Linked DNA regions of Homo sapiens: region 2 is linked to region 1. Evidence: promoter capture Hi-C in human tissues and cell types (Jung and others, 2019). All regions are on one chromosome and are shown on one strand. The core of a region is centred on a gene start or on the middle of the fragment in contact, and the rest is flanking DNA. Distances in the headings are between cores, read along the strand shown. Region 1 holds the start of TRIM9 (tripartite motif containing 9). Region 2 holds the start of LOC101927598 (a long non-coding RNA gene).

Evidence for each region. The method cuts DNA at HindIII sites, captures the fragments that hold promoters and counts their contacts. A contact is called where the count stands out against the background at its distance.
Region 2: a contact is called between a fragment that was not itself captured here and the fragment with the promoter of TRIM9 in region 1, in 1 of the 25 tissues and cell types used here (mesendoderm cells).

What each region holds. Positions count from the first base shown.
Region 1 is chr14:51,092,826-51,098,557 of GRCh38, forward strand. It overlaps TRIM9 (tripartite motif containing 9), which reads right to left and starts at 2,280. Exons shown (of 13, transcript NM_001387360.1): 1 at 1,293-2,280. The coding sequence starts at 2,114. RefSeq lists a silencer at 2,272-2,341. The HindIII fragment of the contact is 24,626 bases long and covers 1-5,732 here.
Region 2 is chr14:51,762,795-51,768,526 of GRCh38, forward strand. It overlaps LOC101927598 (a long non-coding RNA gene), which reads left to right and starts at 3,022. Exons shown (of 8, transcript XR_002957605.2): 1 at 3,022-4,346. It also overlaps the pseudogene OR7E106P. The HindIII fragment of the contact is 4,822 bases long and covers 812-5,633 here.

The sequences.
Region 1 (5,732 bases), core at 1,030-3,529:
GCATGCCACACAGGGATAAATACTACTGAGGAAAATAAAGCTGAGAGGGAACTAGCGGGTGTCTGGGTGGGTGGCGCTGCAAAGATGATACCTGAGCAAAGAGCTGAAGGATGCAGGTAAGTGACCCATTCGGATCTCAGGTAACTGGGGAAGAGAGCTTCAGGCTGAATGAACACCAAATGCAAAGGCCCTGGAGTAGGGAGGTGCCTGGCGTCGTTTGAGGAACAGTAAGAAGCAGTGTGGCTGGAGCAGAGGGAGTAAGTGGGAGGCAATGAGGTCGAAGGGGCCAAAATGGAAGAGGTCATGTAGGACAGGCTGAGAAGCGTGGGAAAAATTGGAGGGTTTTGAGCAGAGGAGTGGCACGACAGAATATGTTGCTAAAGCCTCTTCGTGTCTAGCCATGGTGGAAATATCATCAAAAGAGACTGGAAAGATAAATCTGGTAACAGGTGTCCCAAAGTTTGCACATATAACTACTGAAAGAGGAAAGGGCTTGAATTCCGGAGAAGTGGGTGTGTGTATAGTTGGGAGGAGAAGGTTTCCCTAGGAGATGCACCTGTCTGGCTTCCAGGCCGCGACTGCGCAAACTCCGGTCCTGACACTCTAGTCTCAGGTCCCAACTCCGGAAGGGTTCAGGCCCAAGCCTGCACGTCGCGTTGCCATGGCGACCGCTGGCTGCCCTCTCCGCTCTGTCTTTTGAGCACGTGGCACCAGGACCCCGCGTTCTCTCCAGCTCGAGAGCCAGGTCTGGCCCAGAGCCGGGCTCATCAGTATTCCGCCTGCGGCGTCTCCCCGACCCTCCGCCGTGCCTCACCAGGTCCGCCTATCCAGCAGCGACAGACTCCCGCCGTCCGCGCGACCCCACCGCCCCCATCCCAGTCCCTCCCCGAGGGTTCGCAGCCCGCCCTGCCCTCGAGCGTGCCTAGCGGCCCTGGGCACTGGCGCGGCTCTACCCAGCTATGCAGTGCTTTCCCACACACTGGCCGCGGCCACTGGCTGCAGACCCGCCGCGGAAAGGGGGCGCCCTGAGTCCCGCTCGCAGGCAGCGCGCCCCGAGAGACCCGCTCTAAGGCATCCCCGCAACAACTCTGTGGGGGCATTCAACTCCCCCGTGCGCCGGTTAAGATTCCCCCATGCCTCCTGCAATGCACCAGACCAGGGAGGTAAACATCGAAGGCACCTGCATTGCGCCCCCACTGGGATGCGCTGTGCGCAAGAGACGGGGACCGTCTGCTGCAAAACCGGATGATCGGAGACGCAGGGAGTTAGGAGTGGGTTTTCTTAGGACTCACCTTATGTAGTTTCCACATGGCCCCCAGAGCCTTGACTTCGTGGCTGGAGTGTTTGCCCTCCTCCAAGCACTGGTAGCACACGGGCATCTTGCATTGCACGCAGTACATGCTGTGGTTCTCCAGCTCGTGGTCTGTGCAGGTGGAGACCTTGCGTGGGCTCAGCCTCCGGCTCACACGACCCTGGGCCGGGGGCACCAGGCGGTGCTTGGCTAGGGGCCCCCGGGGCGGGTGGCAGCGCAGGCGGCACGGATCGCAGTAGAAGACATCGCACTGTTCGCACATGACGGTGGCTTCCTTGGGCGCCTTCTCGCAGAGCTGGCACTTGAGGGCCGCGGCTTTGCTCTGCTGGTAGCGGTCAATTACCCCTTCCAGTACGCGATTCTTGGGGAAGCCGCGGAGCCCCCGGTCATCCAGGATGAGGCTGCGGTGACACTGGGGGCAGGTGATACAGGAGTTGCGGGGCACCGGGGCCAGGGCCGGTGACAAGTGGGTGGCCGGTGGCGGCATAGCCGGGGGAAACACGCGGACGCCGTTGGGGGACTTCTGGCACGGGGTAGTGGGGGCGCTGGCGAACCCCCCGTAGGAGCCATAGCCGCTGTCCGCCTCGCTGTATAGGCTCATCTTGTCCAGGTCCAGATAGTCATAGTCGGAGACCCCGGAGCCCGCGGCCCGATGGCTCTGGGGGGATTCAGACTCTGGGGTCTGCACCAGGATGTTGCGGGCGCACGCCTGACACAAATTGTGAGAGCAGGGCAGGATGATGGGCTCCCGATAGAAGGAGCCGCACACGGGGCATTTCAACTCCTCTTCCATCTCCTCCATGGGGACCGGTCTGGGAGGAGACAGCGACGGCTGCAGCGGGTGCCTGAGCTGGCGAGGTGGCCGACGGGCCCGTCTTGTCCAGCACCCTGGCCAGCGGCGGCGGCTGTGGTGGTGGTGCCTTCCCGCGCAGCACTGGCACGGACACCCAGAGAGGCGCTAGCTCTGTGAGCCGCAGCCGCGTAGCCGCCGCGCCGCGCGCCAGCCCGGACCGCCCCTACCTGCCCTCCTAGTCCCGCCCCGGCCCATGAGCAGCGGCCCATTGGGCGGGGGGCAAGAGATCGAAGCTCTCATTGGCCACCAGACCCGTCCGTCTCCTCGTCTCCGCAGGCCACAGGGGGTTCGGTAGAGTCTGAGGATAGGGCAGTCTTCGCTCGCGGCTGCAAGATCTCTGAAGGGGGCCGGCGTGCGGAGGCTAGGGGACCGGGAAGGAGGAGTTAGGCGGGATGATTCATCCTCGCCCGGCTTACTTCCGACCTCCGGTGCAGTCTCCCAGGAGCTGGGGGCGTGAGAAACCCCTCCCCGCAGCGAGTGGGCTGCCGGAGGGGGCTGGGGCTTCTCGCCAGCGTTTGCGTTTGGCTCCCAGCTCTGAGCTCCGCGCCCACCTACCGCGGGCGAGTGCTGCGCAGCACGGAGGACGCCCCTTCTCTTCCGCTGCTGGCAGCCTTCGCAGGCGTCTCACCCGGGCCTAGGCTTCTGCACGGCAGTGGGGCTTTTCTCCTTCTCCGTGAATCCGCTGACGCCGTGCCCTGGAGCTCCCCCATCCCGGGAGTCTGACGGCGCTGGCGCAAGCCCTGGCGACACTCTTGGCTTCTTTCATCCTGCGTCCCTCGTTTCCTAAAGAGCATGTATAAAGTCGATTTCCTAGTGTCGACATGAGATTCAACTGGGTAACCGATGGAAATGGTCAGCATTAGTCAGAATCTATGACCCCTTCGTTTCATGCTTTAAATTATAGCTCGGCCCAGAGGCCTCAGTGCCGTGGTGTGAACGTGCTTCCTTCCACGGATCCTTCTTCCTCCTCGCGGCCTCCCAAAGCACCTGGCTGAGCTTTTTCGAGGCCCGCTGGGCCTTTGGTTCGGTTGAGGCAAGAACAGTTTGTCTATTTCTGAGTGCCCGTAGTTTAGTAAAGCTCTGTAAATGAATCACTGTGTGACTGCGGAGTCTCAGTGTTTCACTCCAAACAGCATTATTCAACCCCACGTGCCCTGGGCATCTGCCATAGCTTACAGCATCGTGTGCCTTTCTGTTTCTTCCAACGAGGGGCATGGTGAGGCGGTGATTCTAGTGTTAGTCCCTGTACAAGGAGGGAGGGAGGGAGGGAAGAAGGGAAAGAGGGAGAGAGGGAGGAAGGAAGGGGGGGGGAAAGGAAAGGCGGAAGGAAGGGAAGAAAGGGAGGGAGGAAGAAGAAAAGGAAAGGAAAATCTTTGAGTCAAGTGACATTCTGAGGTAGTAACATTTGAAATAGTACATAGCCGGCTTTTGCTGAATGATTCATGAAGTAAAGGACAAAAACTCTTTGCAAGTTCTAGAAATATTCCAATTTTCCACCTTCCAGACAGGAGATAACTTGATTATATGCAGCTATGTTGATAATTTAAAAGTACTTTATTGTCCAGAAAAAAAATGGACATTTTATTACACTGCCCTTGTAGAAATTGTCCAATAAACTAGGTTATCTTTTCAACATCTTTAGTTGCAGTGAGAACAGTAGTTGATCATTGTGTGGGGGAATAAAGTCCCCATTGTTATTTAAAGCCATGTTAATCATAAATGTGACGTGATTTATTTTTAAGCTGGCTTTCAACTAGTTGAGACCAGAGCATCCAAAGGTATATGCACTCTGTTTACAGACATAGATAAAATTTCTTCAGGTATGGTTGGGACATTAGCTGCACTTGCAGGATACACTTAATTTATAGGTCCCAAGAGAAATTACTAATAATTATATTCAATATAGTATTAATTGAATTGTAATGAAAGTTAATTATTGAGAAAATATTAGAAAGGAGTGTCCTTTTATGGCTTTTGTATGCATTTGACCACAAGTCACAATATCTTGGACCAGCAAGGTGAGCAGCTGTTACACTTTGTATGAGTTTGAACTCTGCTTATAATAGTATATCATCTAAGAGATCTTATTAGCAGAAAGTTTATGCTTAGTTCAAAGTAAAGAAGAATTTTAGAGGATGTCTCATGGTGTAATGCAGTGTTGGGTTCGCAAAAAGAACAACACAGGTTTATAATATAGTCAATATAGAAAGATTTGGTCTATTATGAAGTCGCTTGAGATGATTTCATTGTTAGATCTGTTTGTTTAGGAATTAGCTAAATCAGTCAATCCTAGGAGAGCTCTTAAAATGACTCATTTGTTGAGAGTTCACCCTGTTCCAAACAGGGGATTTATTTATTTGTATACATTACTTGGTTAAATCCCTGTAATTACAAGAAGAGGTAGGCACAATTATTCCCATTTTACAGATAAATAAACTGAAGATAAGCAAAGACACTTAAGTACTCAAGGTCAAATATGGTGAGGCTGGGATTGGAACCCGGACACATATAAGTTTGTTCCTTTGTTCATTCATTCATTCATTCATTCATTCAACAAGTGCTGAGTTCTACTCTCTTCAAGCTCTGAATGTGATAAGTACCCAAAATGTTCTTTGTTAACTTCTATGATATTCTGCTCACCTTCTCTGAAAGTTTACTTTTTTTTTCCTTTTTTTTTTTTGAGACTGGAGTCTTGCTGTGTTCCCCAGGCTGGAGTGCAGTGGCACAATCTTGGCCCACTGCAACCTCCACCTCCCAGGTTTAAGTGTTTCTCGTGCCTCAGCCTCCTGAGTAGTTGGGACTACAGGTGTGCACCACCATGCCTGGCTAATTTTTACATTTTTTTTTTTTAGTAGAGACAGGGTTTCACTATGTTGGCCAGACTGGTCTCAAACTCCTGACCTCAAGTGATCCACCTGCCTCAGCCTCCCGAAGTGCTGGGATTACACGCATGAGCCAGCGCTCCCAGCCAAAAGTTTACTATTTTTCTTTGAATCCATTTCTTTAAAATATTCTTGAAGGCCTTTGAAGATTTTCCCCTCATGTTGCACTGTTTGGCCATAATGTGCTTTATAGCCCCCCAATGACTTATGTTTAAAAGGGAATAAAAATTGAAATGTAATTGGTAATATTATAGAAATATTATACTATTGAGGGGATATCTTCTGTCTTCCAGCTGGTGATCAGTCCATGCCCTGAAGCACAAGGATTGATAGCCCTGTAATTTCATCATTCCTGGGATGATTGCAGATGTTCTCTTTTGTGTAAAGTGCCTAATTATCCTTTGAAACTTACTATTCACCCAAATTATGTTCTTTAGCAATGAGAGCAATTACATTTAAAGTGCAACAACAGCTTTTGCATTTTTAAAAAAAGATAAATGTTTTTCTTTTTTTGATAAATGTTTTTCAATGAAAAATTGAGTTGCTTTCCTATTTGCTTTTGACTACAATGCTTGATTATTAACAAAACAGTCTCTGTGAGTCTAAAGAATGAACACAGAGAAGAAAGGTTTTTCTTTCCACATTCTCTCCTAGAGTAGTCTATCCTTAGTTGTGGGAGGGGGGT
Region 2 (5,732 bases), core at 1,973-4,472, 670 kb after region 1:
TGTGTGTACACCCTTGATATTAGTCGTACTATCCAGGGTAAATATTACTCCTCATATCACACAGTGTGCACACCCTGTGATATTTTTCATCCTACTTTAGGGAGATATTGCTTCTAATATCACAGTGGGTGTACCCCATGTGTGTATACTCTGTGACAGTATATTTTATATCCTAGGGAGGTATTACTCCTAGTATCACAGTGGGTGTTCACCCTGTGATATCATTCTTATTTCATCATGCAGCCTTTTTCGACCCACACTGCAAAAGGAATGGAACAGATAAGAAGGTATTGAGATTAGAACGTGCTGCCGTGCGGCCGCCGCAGGACACTTTTCATATCCCTGTTTCTCGGACTGTAGATGAAGGGGTTCATCATGGGGGTGACCACTGCGTACATCACTGAGGCCACTGCAGTCTTTCTCGGGGAAGATGACACATCTGAACTGAGGTACCCTCCAACGCCTGTTCCATAAAATCAGGAAACATCTGACAGGTGAGACCCATAGGTGGAGAAGGCTTTATACTTCCCACCTGATGATGAAACCCTCAGAATGGAGGAAACAATTTTATCGTAAGAGAAAAGTGTCCCCGAGATGGGAAGAAAACCAAATATGGCATCAGGGAAATACAGGATTATGTTATTGTTGAAGGTGTCACAACATGCAAGATGGGGGAGTTGAGAAGGGTCACAGAAGAAATTAGGAATTTCCACATCCTTGAAGCAGGTCATTTGTAAGGCAATCAAATTGTACAGCTGGGCATCTAAAAGACTGAGGGAAAAAAAAAAGACAACAAAAGTAGAAAGCCACAGAAACACGGGTTCATGATGGCTGAATGATATAGAGGGTGACATTTGGCTACAAACTGGTCATAGGCCATCACACTCAGGAGTATGTCTGTCTTCCATGCCTCCAAAAATGGCAAAGAGAGACATCTGAGTCAGGCAGCCTGCATAGGAGATGACTCTGCTGTGAGATTGGATGTCCACAGTCATCTTGGGGACTGTGGTGGAGGTGAAACTGATGTCAGGCAAGGACAGGTTGGAGAGGAAGAAGTACATGGGGGTGTGGAGGTGGGAGTCAGGGCTGATGGCCAGGATGATGAGCAGGTTCCCCAGCGCCATGACCAGGCACGTGGACAGGAACAGCCCAGTGAGGACCGGCTGCCGTTCTGGATCCTCTGAGCTTCTAGGAGGAGGAATATAGAGACATCTGTTAGATTCTGTGGGTCTCTAGAGATTGGACACCTTTTGCCTAGAAAAGAGGGTTGAGAAATTGGAAACAAGTAAAGCAACACCCAGCATCATGTCTGCATTTTGCATAGAAGCAATTCACAAGTCATGTTTTCAGATTTCAGAGCAATCCACACTCAGCAATAGTTTGCAGTGCTGACAAACTCAGTTGTCTTCTAATGCTTTCATCATTGATTTCTGTGTTCTTCACTTCTTGCTCTACACACCTGCCTTAGAGACACTAGATTCAAGAATCTTCCAAGAACCAAATCATCCTATATAAGAAGTTCGTCATTGCTAGAAAATACAGCCTATCTTTTCCGAAGAAAACGATGTAATGAAACCATTCTCTTCACTTTAAGAAAAAGGTTATCCTAATGAAAGGAAATTAAGAACTCAAATATTTTATTTTATTCGAATAGATTGATACAAATTCCCTTGATTTAGAACATCTGTAAACACTGTATAACTGCTGAGACCATGCCATCTGGAAATGAAATTAAAGTTGATGGTTCATAAGCAGAAAATAGTTCCACAGGCCAGGTGGGTCCCAGTGATTTCATCATTACGTTTTCTGACTTTTCTCCTTCAAGAGAGTAATTGCTTCCTCAAATCAGTGGGTCTTGTTTTAAAATTCATGGAAGCTATAACTCCTATCCTTAGCTTAGGTGGACTTAGAGTTTTCATCAGAACGTTTGGCCGGACGCGGTGGCTCACGCCTGTGATACCAGCACTATGGGAGGCCGAGGAGGGCGGATCACGAGGTCAGGAGATCAAGACCACCCTGGCCAACATGGTGAAACCCCGCCTCTACTAAAAATACGAAAACTTCGCCCGGTATGGCGGCGTGTGCCTGTAGTCCCAGCTACTCGGGAGGCTGAGGCAGGAGAATGGCTTGAAACTGGGAGGCAGAGGCTACTGTGAGCCGAGATCACACCACTGCACTCCAGCCTGGGCAACAGGAGCAAAACTCCATCTCAAAAAACAAAAAACCAAAAACACACGCTCTGTCACACTGACGTCACACTGATGACAGCCAATTTTTGTGAACCAAGGAAGTGTCAATTCAATAATCAGCATAGATGTTTACTTTGGCTATCTCCTATGTGCCAAGCAAGATATAGGCTCTGGGGAATCAGAAACAAAAGAGACTCAATTGTTCCTCTCACAATACTCAGTACTTACTGAGACAAGGACAAAATAAGATGTCCTGTCTGGAATGCAGGGACACAAGAACTTCAGGTCAGGGGATATTTCCGTTGAACCGTTTGGAGTTTAAGCTGAAAATATTAACGAATGTATCTAAAGTTCACTTTGCCTTGACTTTATGCATCCATCACATAGAGATCACGCAGCGGGCACCCACTATGGGTTTCATCATCGCTCACTTCCCTTGGATCAACTAGAAATCAACTCAGATGAGAGTGCTGAGTCTCAGAGGATGGACGTCTCACTCCTTGCCATACAGATAAGTAGAAAGGGTGGTATTGAAATTAATGGCCAGACTCTAAGTCCCGGGCACTATACTTGATGGTCTCCCAACCCTCAAAATGTTGTGGGTTCTTTTTTGTTTTTGAGACGGAGTCTCATTCTGTTTCCCAGGCTGGAGTGCAGTGGAGCGATCTCGGCTCACTGCAACCTCCGCATCCCAGGTTCAAGCTATTCTCTTGCCTCAGCCTGCCGAGTAGCTGAGATTTCAGGCGCCCGCCACTACGCCTGGCTTATTTTTTTCTCTTTTTAGGAGAGACGGGGTTTCACCGTGTTGGCTAGGCTGGTCTCGAACACCTGACCTTGTGATTTGCCTGCCTCAGCCTCCCAAAGTGCTGGGATAACAGGCGTGAGCCACCACGCCCAGCTTCAAAAGTTTTCAACAGAGCTCAGAGGTCTTAACCACAGGCACATCCGAGGAGCATTTTTGAAATGGTTTCCAGCTTCCTCAATAGGAATGGAAGCCAAACCCGGAACTGATGGCTCCTTGGAGGAAGTCGAGAGCTGTAAGGAAAGCCAGGAACAGGGGCAAGGGAGAGATGCATCCCGAATGATCCTGTGCCAATTCTTTCTGGAATCTTTGATGTGATCTCCGCTGCCCTTTCCATACTTGACACAGTGATTGTGGCACCCACTGGTCTAGCTGTGGTCTACAAGGAACCCCCAAAGGGAAGGGCACAGTGAGCAGGGGCATCGGCCTGAGTGACAAGGATTGGAGGGGGCAGGTTGGATGCAGGGAGAGGACTGGCCAAATGCCATGTGTCTGGCTTAGACTACCTTGTTCAAATTGGGCTTCACCATTTTTGACTTCGTGATCTGGTACAAGTTATATGAAAATGTGTTGCTCCTTTTCTAGTCTGTAAAATCATAAGGAAATGTGCACTAATAACTGGGAGACTATGCAGATGAAATGAAACAAGCTGCATAGAACACAGAGCTCAGAGCCTGGCCTTTAGGAAGCCCTCAGTAAGGGTTCATGATGCCATGGTGTCTGTCATCATCCTCTTTATCCTCATCATCACCTTCATCATCTTTTTGTTGTTCTGAGGGCATACTTTAGAGGGACTCATTCCCTGCTCTCATGGGTGAGATGTCTATGAAGAGGACAACCAGTGGGGGAGGGAAGCAAAATTTTGAAGAAGATTCCTGAGAGAGATCCCCCACCACAACCAAGAACAGAAACTCCACAGTCTGCTGAGCTGACAGTTTGCACATTGGTCTCCTCCCATCTGCCCACGGCACTCTCCCGTTTGTCCTGAAGATGAGGAAACAAACAAGGCTCCCGACCGTCCCTCAGCACTCACTGAACGGCCCTTCCCCTCTGCTGGGCCATGACCACGGAGAACAGGTCCACTGTCCTCCCTGAGTGGTGCACATGGGAGGCTCAGACTCCGTCCTCAAGGCTGGTAAGAAGACAGGGTGAGACATGAGCCTCCTGATACAGGTGACGGGTGTGGAGCCCACAGGACTGCAACCTCACACTGCAGGGCTGGAGGCACAGACTGAGTATTTCCTATTCTATGGCCTGGGGGGCTCAAGGCACAGAGCTCCTCATTAGCCAGAGTCGCCCATGTTCCCCATGCTCTAAGGATTTCCTCATCATCATGCAAGAAGAAGAATAGAAAAGTAAGTGTCCATAGAAGCTTTGGGGCTCTTCCTCTAATCAGGAGAGAGCTTGTGTGTATTATTTGCTTTTTTCTTTTACAAGATCCAAGTGCTTTAATTTTCATCTTTTATTATGGGAAAATATACCACGTATAAATCCTAAAAATTATAAATATAGATTATTTCATATAGAATGGCCAGTATGAACATTTATAATTTCCACTATTTTTCAGTTTAGAGTTTAATCACATTAGGTACATTCACATTGTTTAGCAACCATCACCGCCATCATCTCCAGAACAGTTTTATCCTTGAAAATGGAAATTGCACCCATTAACCAAACTCTCCATTCCTCTCCCTCTCACCCACCCCTGGGGGCCACCATTCTATTTTGCAGCTCTATAAGTTTAACTACTCTAGACACGTGATATAAGTGGAATCATACCGTGTTTAATTTTTTTGGTTTGTTTGTTTTGGAGACAGAGTCTTTCTCTGTCACCCAGGCTGGAGTGCAGTGGTGTGGTCTCGGCTGACTGCAACCTCCACATCGTGGGTTCAAGCGATTCTTGTGTCTCAGTCTCCCGAGTAGCTGGGATTACAGGCATGCGCCACCACGCCCAGCTAATTTTTGTATTTTTAATAGAGACGAGCTTTCACCATATTGGCCAGGCTGGTCTCGAACTCCTGACCTTAAGTGATCCGCCTGCCTCGGCCTCCCAAAGTGCTGGGGTGACAGGTGCGAGCCACTGAGCCTGGTCATGTTTATCCTTTTGGGATTTATTTATTTCACTGAGGAGAATGTCTTCAAGGTTCATCCGTGTTGCAGCCTGTGTCAGAAGTGCCTGTCTGGTTGTTTGGGTGTTTTTTTGTTTTGTTTTGTTTTGTGTTTACATGGAGTCTCACTCTGTTGCACAGGCTGGAGTGCAGTGGCACAATCTGGGCTCACTGCAACCTCCGCCTCCCGGGTTCCAGCGATTCTTGTACCTCAGCCTCCCAAGTAGCTGGGACTATAGGCACACGCCACCACGCTCGTCTAATTTTGTGCATTTTCAGTAGAGACAGGGTTTCACCAAGATGGCCAGGCTGGTCTTGAATTCCTGACCTCAGGTGATCCGCCCACCTCGGTCTTCCAAGATGCTGGGATTACAGGCGTGAGCCACCGCACCGGCCAGAAGTGCCTGCATTTTTATGGCTGAATAGTCTTCCGTTGTATGAATGAACTGCACTGTGCTTTTTCATTCACCTGCCCATGAACCCTTGGGTTGCTTCCACATTTTGGCTGTTTTGAGTAACGCTGCTATGAATATGGGTGTACAAATCTCTCTTCCACTCCTGGCTTCTAATTCTTTTTGGCAGGTACCCACAAGTGCAACTGTGGGAACATCTGATAATCCTGTTTCTACTTTT